Linked DNA regions of Homo sapiens: region 2 is linked to region 1. Evidence: promoter capture Hi-C in 16 types of primary human blood cells and fetal thymus (Javierre and others, 2016). All regions are on one chromosome and are shown on one strand. Each heading gives the region's core, a stretch centred on a gene start or on the middle of the fragment in contact. The rest is flanking DNA. Distances are from core to core; before and after follow the strand shown. Region 1 holds the start of PGRMC2 (progesterone receptor membrane component 2). Region 2 has its middle 250 kb from the start of C4orf33.

Evidence for each region. Contacts are between HindIII fragments. The CHiCAGO score rates a contact against its expected background, and 5 or more counts as called.
Region 2: a fragment that was not itself captured here is called in contact with the fragment with the promoter of PGRMC2 in region 1 in 2 of 17 cell types (monocytes and M1 macrophages); the score reaches 7.4 in monocytes.

The regions. Positions count from the first base shown.
Region 1 is chr4:128,286,284-128,291,764 of GRCh38, reverse strand. PGRMC2 (progesterone receptor membrane component 2) reads left to right here and starts at 3,952. Exons shown (of 3, transcript NM_006320.6): 1 at 3,952-4,392. The coding sequence starts at 3,975. RefSeq lists silencers at 2,657-2,951, 3,323-3,512, 3,833-4,012, 4,023-4,072, 4,253-4,312. The HindIII fragment of the contact is 4,970 bases long and covers 527-5,481 here.
Region 2 is chr4:129,340,180-129,345,806 of GRCh38, reverse strand. No RefSeq gene overlaps it. Among named protein-coding and RNA genes, the nearest start is that of C4orf33, 250 kb to the right of the region's middle. The HindIII fragment of the contact is 590 bases long and covers 3,701-4,290 here.

The DNA of each region.
Region 1 (5,481 bases), core at 2,703-5,202:
CACAAATTCTTTGTCACTCTCCCTCCACCCCTATCAAGTGTTTATTTCCTCTCCCCTTAAAATTGAGCTGGCCCTGTAACTGCTTTTACCAATACAACATGTCATTTCCAGACCTAAGACTTACAAAACCTCGAAGTTTTTGCTTTTATTGCATTTGAGAATCCTAAGCCACCATGCAAGAAAGAAGTCAGGCTACTCTGCTGAAGAAGCCATGTGAATCAGAGAGTCTTTGGAACGGCATGGGTAAATAGAAAAGCTCAGCTACTCTAGCAACCTAGTTGAGCCTCCAAAAACTCCAGCCCCAAACAATACCAGGCTGGAACCACATGAGAGACCCTGAGCAAGATTAGACAACTGCCCATGAGCCTAGTCAACCCACAAAACTGTTACACATAATAAAATGGTGACTGTTTTAAACCATTAAGATTTAAGGTGCTTTGTCATGGGACAATAGATAATTAAAATATTTCATCACTGTTGGCAGGAAGAAACAGCGCAGGATAAATGTCCACAGGCTCTTAAAGCTTTTATTTGGAAATGACACAAGTCACTTCCAATCACATTTCATTGGCCATTCTTGAGGTAAAAGGAGTAGGGAAATCCAAATCTACGTGTGTGGAAAAAGAAATAGAAATATTTGGTGGCTAGTACTAATATCTTCCAGAGATTTACAAGTAAATCAGTAAATAGATGAAGTGTCAGGGGAAAAAAGCTAACAACAGGAGAAAAGAATGTACATGACGATTCTTGTAGATGTCCTCTAGGCAAAGCAGGGATGTAAGAGGAAAAGGAGGGTAGAAAGAAGTCAAAAATAAAAAAAATAAAAAAGCATCCGCAGGGAAAAAGTAGAAATCTTGGGATCTAAAGGACAGTTTCAATAACAGAATAGTCAAGAAGAGCATAAAATAAAAGGCCAAAATGGGTGGTACAGGTAAGGAACACACAGAAATTCAAAGAAGGTAGGTTAATGTGGGCTGATAGAGGCCTCAGGTGGAAGTAGAATTGAAAGAATGGATAGGTCATGGAATTTGTATGGTTAGAAATAAGAAGGGCATGCTCCGTGAGGAAACAGCATGAGTCAAGTCCTAGACTGTGCAATACACATAGCATATATGGGGCAAGGGACTAGGTATTGTAAGGGGAAACGTATCATTTAATAGAGGGTATCCAAGGGATTGTTTGCTGGGGAACGGGAAGGCAGGGAAGCCACTCAGGGACTTATGGAGGCCCTTGAGTGCTTTCTGAGTTGTCCTCTTCAAATTACAGAGCACCCCTGGAGATTGGTGTCTGAGCAAAGGAAATCAGAACACAGTTCTAGTCTCTTCGTGTAGGAATGAAATAGGAAAAGACTGACGGCAAGTCACCAATTGGAAAGTTATTGCAGTACTCAAAGCAAGAGTATCCTATTGGGACAAGAGCTTGTTACTTAGGGTGGAAAATAAGAACTTCCAACTAGTCCAGTTCAAGGGGCTTACAATGAGAATCAAAAAAGCTGGGGTTTTGGGAAGGCTTCAAGTGTGAAGAAGTCGAGACACTATTTTATCAAGGATATAAAGGAAAACTTTTTTACTTCACGTGGCAGCCAATGTTGGTTAGCTACCCAACATTCCCCAGCCCACTTCCTTGACAGCAGAACTTTAATACTGTCCAATTCCTCTCTTCCCTCCAAACCAACTGGAAAAGAAACCTACACACACTAATTCAGCCCCAAGGTAAATCCTGAGGGTCTAAGCTACTGGTTCTCAACCAGTACCACACCTCTGGGGGGTGGGAGGGAAAAACGGTTGATTTACGGTGTCACAATGCCTGAGGTGTGGTACTGACATTTAGCTGGAAGGAACCAGAGATGGTAAATGTCCAGCAATGCTCAACACAGTCCTGAATAAGAATTAAAAAAGCCAGATAAACACTAGGCAATCATGGATGTCCCATGCTCCTTGTCTGTTACTGCTTTAGGGACAGCTAATAGCCCAGTTCTGGTCAATAAGATATAAGGAGTGGCCTGCTTCTGGGGTGCTTTCTTCCTTCCTATCAATGTTGTCTCAACTGTATACAGCTCTTGGGACTGCTACAGCTATCTTCTCCTCAAAACCAGTTTCTTCTTTATCTTCCTATTTCCATCACTGGCACCTCCCATTTTCTGTTACCAAGTCCTAAAGCAATTTTGACTTCTCCTAACCCTTAACCTTAAGGTGACTATTCCTTTAGGTTTGCCTGGGATAAAACTGATATAACTCCTGGTCTCTGGCTATAATTATTAATGCCCTACTTTACTTCCAAAAGTGTTCCATATTGAAGGATAGAGTATATGGTCATTTACTACCAATTGTGTCGCTCTCCCTCAGGTACCTCTAATGCAGGGCTCAGCAATATGGCTTATAAGTTGTTTTTGCACCTCTCCAGAACTAAAAAAAAAAAAATTTACATATTTCAATGATTTTCTTAAAAATCAAAAGAATATTTCATACCTGAAATTATATTAAAAATTCAATGTCCATAGTTTTACTGAAGACAGCTACACTCATTCAAGTATTGTCTATGGCTGCTTTCTCGTTACAAGGTAGAGCTGAGTAGTTAAGGCAGAGACTTAAAATATGATCGGGCCCTTTACAAAAAATGTTTGCCAACCCCTGCTCTAATGTCTCCCCTAGCTCTGAGTCTCCTCACCTCACGCACAAATACCCTAGCCTACTAACTGCTTTCCCACTCTTTCCCCAGCCTCTAATCCTTCAGACACCTGGTTGCTATACAGCCTCTCTACAAGAGTGTCGACCCTGTCACTTGCCTCGTCAATATCCTCAGTGACTCCTACAAAACCGACAGTGAAAGGTTCAAACCTATTCTATGAGACTCAAGACAACAGACAACAAAGGGCAAGAGAGAACACGTCAAACGAGTTCGTCAAACGAGTTGAGTGCGTGAGACTTCAGAGGTCACTTTTTCACACTAGAATTTCAAGGTGTGAGAGGCTAAAAGACGTCCAAGTACATGAAACAGAACCTGCAAATAAGAGTGAATGACGAATAGAAAGACCACCTCAACCTGTCCACTTCCCTACGGCCGCAGAAGTTATGATTCAAGGAATAATGAGACTCTAAATCCTTTAAAATTCTACAAGAGCAGCCTTTGCCAAACCCAGCGGGGAGTGGCTGCTCGGTGCCAGCGCGAGGAGCACGTAGACTGCCGATGCCAGAGAAGCCCGGTGCGGGTTCCGTGCTTTCTCTCCGTTCCAGGAAGACCCCAGCTCGTGGCCAAATCTTCTTGCCGCTTCCCGGTCTGCGCGCCTACGCTGCCGGTTTCCCGACAAAAGCGACGGCGCCCTGGTGAAAAGCAGACGCCCCTCATCGGTTTGCGCCTTGCAGCTCAACTATGCCCCAGCCTCCCACAAGCCACCTGCCCGCGTCCTCCGCCAGGCGTCCAGCCCGGACCTGCCCCCGCGGCCGCCAAGGCGCACGTGAAGCTCCCGGGCGGGGGGAGCGCAAGGAGGCGGGAGTTTGCGGACGCGAACGCAGGCCTAGGAAGGGAAGCGATTCCAGGGCGCACGCGCAGAGCCTGGAGACTGGGCGGGGCGTGCCTCCCGCAGGGGTTACGAACGAAAGGCGAGCGCGTGGCGCTCAGGAGCCCGCGCACGCGCTGTGGTCTCGCCCCGCCCATGAGCGTCCGCGCGGCCGTCGTAGCATCTTTTCTTCAGACCCGCCCGGCTCGTCTACTTAACCTAGCGGAGGCTTGGAGTGAGAGCAGGGAAGTGTGGGGCGAGGTGGGCGGGGCGTTGCACGCGTGCGCGGCCAGCGAAAGAAGGGAGGGGGCGGGAGATCCGAGACAACGTTACCCCGTCAACACCCAATCAGGAGCCGGCCTGACCCCGCCCCCTCTTCTCACGTTATTGGCTGAGAGGCCCCCAGATGGGCGGGGCCGGCCGTGGGGTTGGGGAGGGCAGGGGGCGGGGAGGAGGAGGAAGGCGCTGGCGGGCAGTGATGGCGGCTGGTGATGGGGACGTGAAGCTAGGCACCCTGGGGAGTGGCAGCGAGAGCAGCAACGACGGCGGCAGCGAGAGTCCAGGCGACGCGGGAGCGGCAGCGGAAGGGGGAGGCTGGGCGGCGGCGGCGTTGGCGCTTCTGACGGGGGGCGGGGAAATGCTGCTGAACGTGGCGCTGGTGGCTCTGGTGCTGCTGGGGGCCTACCGGCTGTGGGTGCGCTGGGGGCGGCGGGGTCTGGGGGCCGGGGCCGGGGCGGGCGAGGAGAGCCCCGCCACCTCTCTGCCTCGCATGAAGAAGCGGGACTTCAGCTTGGAGCAGCTGCGCCAGTACGACGGCTCCCGCAACCCGCGCATCCTGCTCGCGGTCAATGGGAAAGTCTTCGACGTGACCAAAGGCAGCAAGTTCTACGGCCCGGGTGAGGAGTTGGAAGGGGAGGGGAAGGACCCCCTGCAGCTGAAGCACAACCCCCTTCGGACAGGGAGGCCTCTGGGCACCGGGTTAGTTTGCCCAGCCTTCTCGTCTCCGGGACCCCCGCGCCTCGGCCGCCGCACCTGGGACGGCCCATCCCGCCCCTACACACACACCGTCCCCCCGCAGCTACGGGCACCTCCAGTTCTTCCCCCGAAACCAGGGTCCCCGGTGGCGCCCCAGAGACCAGCTCTCAGCATTCATCTTTCTTCCATCCCATTTCTCCTCGCAGCCTTTTTTTTTTGTTTCTTTGGCTGGATTTTTCAAAATCGTTTTAGTTGTCACAGGTCAACGCTGGCCCTTAACCTTTTTTGAGTCTCCTGATTCCTGGGATGGATGGGGCACCAGGGAAGGGAGATTTCTGAAGTTGGGACCTAAACTAAAGTTTTGGGCTCTGTAATTCACCGTTTTCTTTTCCTTGCCCCCTTTTTTTTTTTTTTTGCCACTGATCTCCTTTTTTCCCTCGCTGTATTACTCCGTAAGGCCACGTTTAGGGGCATGTAAAGTCCCAACCCTCCAGTCTCTGAAGTCCAGACGTATAAGCAACACCTCGGACTCTCTTTAAACCAGTTTTAGTTCGGAGTTGCTTTCCATGATTAACAAGGTATGTGGGATGAGAACAGACCAGAATGCAGAGCTTATTAAAGACTGGTAAGGATATTCACCTTGAGTTTTGGGGGTGGAGCTCCTATACCCAGCAGGCGTGTCTCTGGTTTCTTTTTTCTTTTTTTTTCTCTTTTCAAGTACACGTTGATAATGACTTGTGTTTTCACTTAGCAGAACTAAGGAGAAAAAACTTAGAAGAGTTGTAGATTTATACCCCCATGTGCCAGTTATGCAAGTTAAAGATTTTTAGAACTTTGTTTTGAGAGAACTTTGTTTTCAGGGAACTTTGTGTAGGGTAGTTGATTTAGACGCCCTTTTTTTACAGTGTGGTTGTAGCATACATTTTGGATTATGTTAATAAACCCCAGACTCATGGAACCTGTTGGTATATCATACAGTTGAGCAACATTGTGCATCCTGGTTGTGCACT
Region 2 (5,627 bases), core at 2,746-5,245, 1.1 Mb before region 1:
TTATGAATTACATTTAAATGAATTATGGCACAACAAGACCTGCCAAGCCTAAACCTAGGAGTGTGTGAATGAGAGCACCCCATAAGTAATAAGCGATCAGAGCCGCCAGCAGGGCGCATGGCACCCAGGGCCCTGCACTCCACACTGTCTTCCCAGTGCTGACAGGAAAATCTTGTGCCAGGAAGAATCCATCTCTTCGGAAGACAAGAAGATCCTAGAACTAGTAGTAGCAAGAGTCTACTGCAATGAGGAATGGGGGAGGCAGAGCACAGACATTCCTCTTTACTGTGTGCAGCCAGTAAATCTAGTTGTAAAGACAAGTAAACTTGAGTGGTGGGAGAAATGTTCTCCATCTGAAAGTCCCGGGGGCTCAGTAAATGTTTCCTTATTAATAATAGTTTAGAGACGAAGCCTTTTAACTTAGGAACTTTTAGGAGTCATTTAGGGCATAATATATTAAAGAATGCTACGACATTAAAAGTAATATAAATAAAGGAAATGTAGTCTGCGTAAAGATCATTTGGATAATTATTTCATCTCTTTGCATCCATAATTTTGAAATAAAATATAGTCTTTCCTCACTTCATCTGCAATAAATCATTTACAAAAAGTAAGTGGCTTCACAAATAAATGACTGTATCTATGACTACTCTCCCAAAATCAATAATACATTTATTGATAATTCTGCATTTAAAGGTTCATTTCACCTTAGTATTGACATTCTGTCTCCCCTGCCATTTCATTAGATTTAAAATTTTTCATTCTTGGTAATGAACTGTAAGAAAGTTATATGTTAGAAAGTGGCCCCATTTCAGAGCTGGGCAATGCAACTCAATATATCATTTTCTATTAATTACCACAGTCAGTAAAGTTTCTTGTTTGTGTGCTCAGCAAAATTAAAGTTAGGAGTTTTTGGCTTCATTTTGTAAGCCAAGATTCCCTGACTTGTCCTTAAATACACCACTTCGCTGCTCTATAAAATAGAGCAATATATTAAAAACACACTTCCTCTGAGCCTTCAGATGAGACTTGAGTTAGTTCAACACATTCTTTTGAGTACTACAAAGTGACATTTGGGTGGAGAACTACCAGCGATTCAGACCCAAAATGTAACACCTGCCTTTGAGAAGCTTACAAATGAATGAGACAGCAGATAAATAAACAGAAAATCTCAAGGTGAAGCAGGAAGCTCTAGTCTCTAGGTTTGTAAATGGGTAAATGCGGCATGGAAGACGGGTGTTAGCTCAGAGGGGTAATTTGCGGAATGCTGCATTGATGAGATGACATTTAAACAAAGTGTTAACTTTTTTAACATTAAGATTTCATGACGGAATGTAAAACATAAATGAACACGTCTAACTGCATCAACTCACTAAGCAATTTAATAAAATCATTCCTACAATAATGTAGCACGTGACCTTTTGTGAAACTCTATTTGGGAGCATAATTACGTGGATGAGCCAAAGTCCAATCGCAACACAAAGTCAATGCACAACCTCAGAGGAAATAACACAACCGGGGGAATACATAAGTTTTCATCTCCACCTTATATTAATGCTGTGATCCCATTAAAAAAAAAGTTACAATAATTTTAGACGCTAGCGTAGGCTGGATTAGAAAAGCGGAGTTTTACTGCCATCTCCTGGCAGTACTCGATGATGGCTGTCAGTAAAATGATACTGGATTCTACCTGCAGGCTCAGGCAAAATAGTACAGACAGAAGCGGAAATGCTTATCGTTAGCTGTTTTATTAGAAAGTATACATTTAAAACTCATTTCCGATGAAATGAATTTTCTGAAACTTTATTTCATCTTATTCTGATCGGATAAAAAACTTAATGCTTTTTTTTTTTAGTAAGTTTTAAACTGGTAACCCCAGAACTGAAGAAATTCTTTATTCACATCTCTTGAATTTGTTATATATACCTTGTTATTTCCAACACAATTGAATAAGATACACTTTAGGGAAAAGACTGTATTTTCCATCAGATTTTCAATTAGCTGAAACAAGATATTGTTTGCACTTGAATGAAGTAGGCTACAATATATTTCATATGTTGTCAAACGAAATATTTAAATGTCTTCTCTTTGTCTTGGTTTGAGAGCAGATTTTATGGCACCAAGTCCATGCACCAAATTTGTGCTTCTCCAACTCTCCCTGAGGCCTTTCCTTAACTACAAAACCATTTACGGCAAAAAAAAAAAAATTAACGAAACCAATCGTTCCATTACTTGCTAGCTTTCATTATATACTGAAACATCTATTCAGCATTTGTATCTGCTAATGCAACAGAAACTCATCTGCTCAATGAGATTTATCACTTTTTTTTTACATGTTCACAAGATATTGCTGTACATTTTGCAATGGGTCTTTATTACCTAGTAATGATGCCTTGCAAATTAAATTAGTTTTTAATGGCATAGTTAAATTCTAATTTATGTTTCGGAGCTTTGTTTAATTCATTTAGTTATAATGTAATCGTTTTCTTGCTATTTTCTTACATTGCATAGAAAGAACAAAAGAATAGGGGTTCATCTCATCACATTCAGTTGTCTTGGCTTTATTAAATCTTGTCAATAATTGCATTTCCCCCAAGAAAGTTTCAAAACAGTTGCAGTCCAATTCTTCGGGGAGAAAAAAAAAGAAAAGAAAAAACCTCTCTGGCTCTCTGGTTGCTCAGCAGTCTGTATAAGGAAGTTGAATCAAACTATTACTGTAACTCCAAGGGTTGGTTAGATATTGCCCTTCCTCATGCTCATTATAACCCTACCGTGCCATGTAATGTATTGGGCAATTATTCTTTTGCAATAAATTCCTTTCCTGTGAGCTCTTTCTTTCCTGAACATTCAGGAAAACTGAAACCAAAAGTGATCATTAGCAGCACAGAAAGTAATCTTTTATAATGTCTACTTGCATTTTCTTCCCTCTCAATCGACAGGTCTTTCACAGACCTGACTGCAATAACCTTTTATAATGCCTTTTCACTAGGGTCCACGCTGCAGGAGCAAAAAAGACCTTAGCAAGTTTCACGGTTTTAAGCCAGAAACTGAGTTATGGAGTTGCATGGGAATAATTAATATCATTTAAAATTTATTGAGCCGGTTTGACCCTACCTTGGTGTTGGTAGTTTTTTCAGGAGAACTAAAGCACACAGGGGGCATTTTAATGAGGACTATTTGCAACACAGGCTGTTTAAGTTTCCATCCAAACAAGGACAGTTTTCAGGCCCATTCTTCCTTTTCTTCCAATGAGAAGAGAAATTTCATATTCTGGAGAATTCTCCCATTCCAATTTTAATGTGTGCATATCTTCCTGAATGTCGTTTCTCCCGACTTCTGGGTACAACATGCAGATGACCCAGGTGAGAAAGTCACAGTTCGTGGTTTTCTCCTGGTTGCATGGATTCCACTCCTCACCCTGACCACCATCTTTTAAACTCCTGATCTTGATGACCAAAAAGATCAGTAAACCATTTTCTTCTTCTGGAAAAGCAATTTGCCACACCAGTCCTACCAGCTAGGAAGCAGGAGTGACAACTTCAAAATGAAAGCAACATTAAAAGGAATAACTTTTCATATTTCTTACAAGGATAAAACAAGAATATGTGATGTTTGGGTGAGAAGGAGATTGACTGTTCAGCACATACCTTTATTACTCTTTTAAGTTTTTCTCTGTGCATGCTCGACTTTTTCAAAAGCTTGCTAAAATATAACAAGGTGATATAAGCATGTGATACTACTCCTGATTTTAATTCTATTTAATATTATACCTGTTAAACGATGAGAAAAAGATAAACTAGGACACCAAGATTCCTTTTACATGAAATAATATTTCTGTAAGAAACTAATGAAGAATAAAAGCCGCCTTAATATTAATCCCCTATTTCTCTGAACTTTCTTGTCTTAAAATTTACTGTTGACAAAGACTAGCACAATATCCACAGTGTGGATCCAAGATTATAAATTGATCCTTAAGATTCACTTATGAAGGAGACACATCTGCACTGAAGTGAGCTTAGAAATAAAAGAGCATTTGTAGAAAAAGTAATTTGCTTCGAAGCTCAGCCCTGCTCTCAGCCACTCATACACTCCTGTCCATTGCCTAGGAGCAATGTGCTGAGAGTTGAATTTGGCTCACAGTCAATAGCCTCTTTCTTTAGCCTCCCAGGTGTTACATAACACACCTTGCTTTCTGCCTAATTCTCCCCTGAAGTTATCCTCTTCTTTTCCTAATATTGTAGTTCACACTGATGGAGATATTGTTAGAATCTCAGAGGAGGAATGAAAGCTTTTAGGACATGGTTCAAATAAAAATGTTGTTGATTGTGAAGGCAATTTTCTTTAAATATAGAATTTTCTTATTTGTTTATTTCCACTCAAAGTAACTGTGACCTGTAAAATAGAAGCATTCATGAATTAGTTGACTTATGAGTAATCCTTATCCCCACATCCAAACAACGGGGGGTCTCTAAGCTCTTGCCAGTAACACAGCAGCCATTGGAGAACCCAGAACTCTATAGATTTCTGCCCTTCTGCAGCTTCCCAGTTGCTCACTGTTATGGGTTGAATTGTGTTTCCCAAAAAGATATGTCGAAGTCCTAACCCTCAGTATTTGAGAATGTCACCATATTTGGAAATAGGGTCATTGCAGATATAATTTGTTAAGATTAGATGATACTGTAGTAAGAGAGGTCCTTAACCCAGTATGGCTAACATCCTTCTAAGATGCAGCACATGGGGGAAAAGGTCAAGTGATGACAGAGGTAGAAGGTGAGTGATGAAGCTGCCAGCCAAGGAATGCCAAGGATTGATGGCCACCACCAGAAGGCAGGAAGAGGCAAGGTAGGATTCTACCCAGAACCTCAGAGGGAGCCCACATGGCCCTGCTGACACTTTGATTTTGAACATCTAGTTTCCAGAACCATGAGAAAATACATTTCTGTTGTGTTAAGCCCTCACAGTTTGTGCTATTTGGTATGGCAGCCCTAGGAAACTAATAAACCTGCCCACCTACTAGCCTCGCCATGTCCCCAAATCAACCCTAGTAACAACCACTTCCACTTCCCAGGGGTCTATGGGGCTCAGAAGTAATTATGAGGGTTATGGATCCAGGCAATGTATTTTATTCATATTTCAGGTACACTGGATTCCAAAGACTTTCATGACAAGCCCACCATCAAATTATAACACTCTTAATGAGGACATGGTTTTAAATTCCAAATACTTTTCATAAAATGAATTTTTAGAACATAATCTGTTTAAGTAAGATTTACCTATTCAGAGAAGTTGTATTGTTTTTAATACACCTTAAGTTTTGCCATGAAATATTATGCAGCCGTAAAAAAGAATGAGATCATGTTCTTTGCAGGGACATGAATGGAGGGCTAGAGGCCATTATCCTTATCAAACTAAGACAAGAATAGAAAACCAGATACCACATGTTCTCACTTATAAATGGGAGCTGGATGATGAGAACACATGGACACATGGACACACAGAGGGGAGCAACACACATTGGGGCCTTTCAGAGAGTGGAAGGTGGGAGGAGGGAGAAGATTGAGAAAAACAACTAATGGGAACTAGGCTTAATACCTGGATGATGAAATAATCTGTACAACAAACCCCCA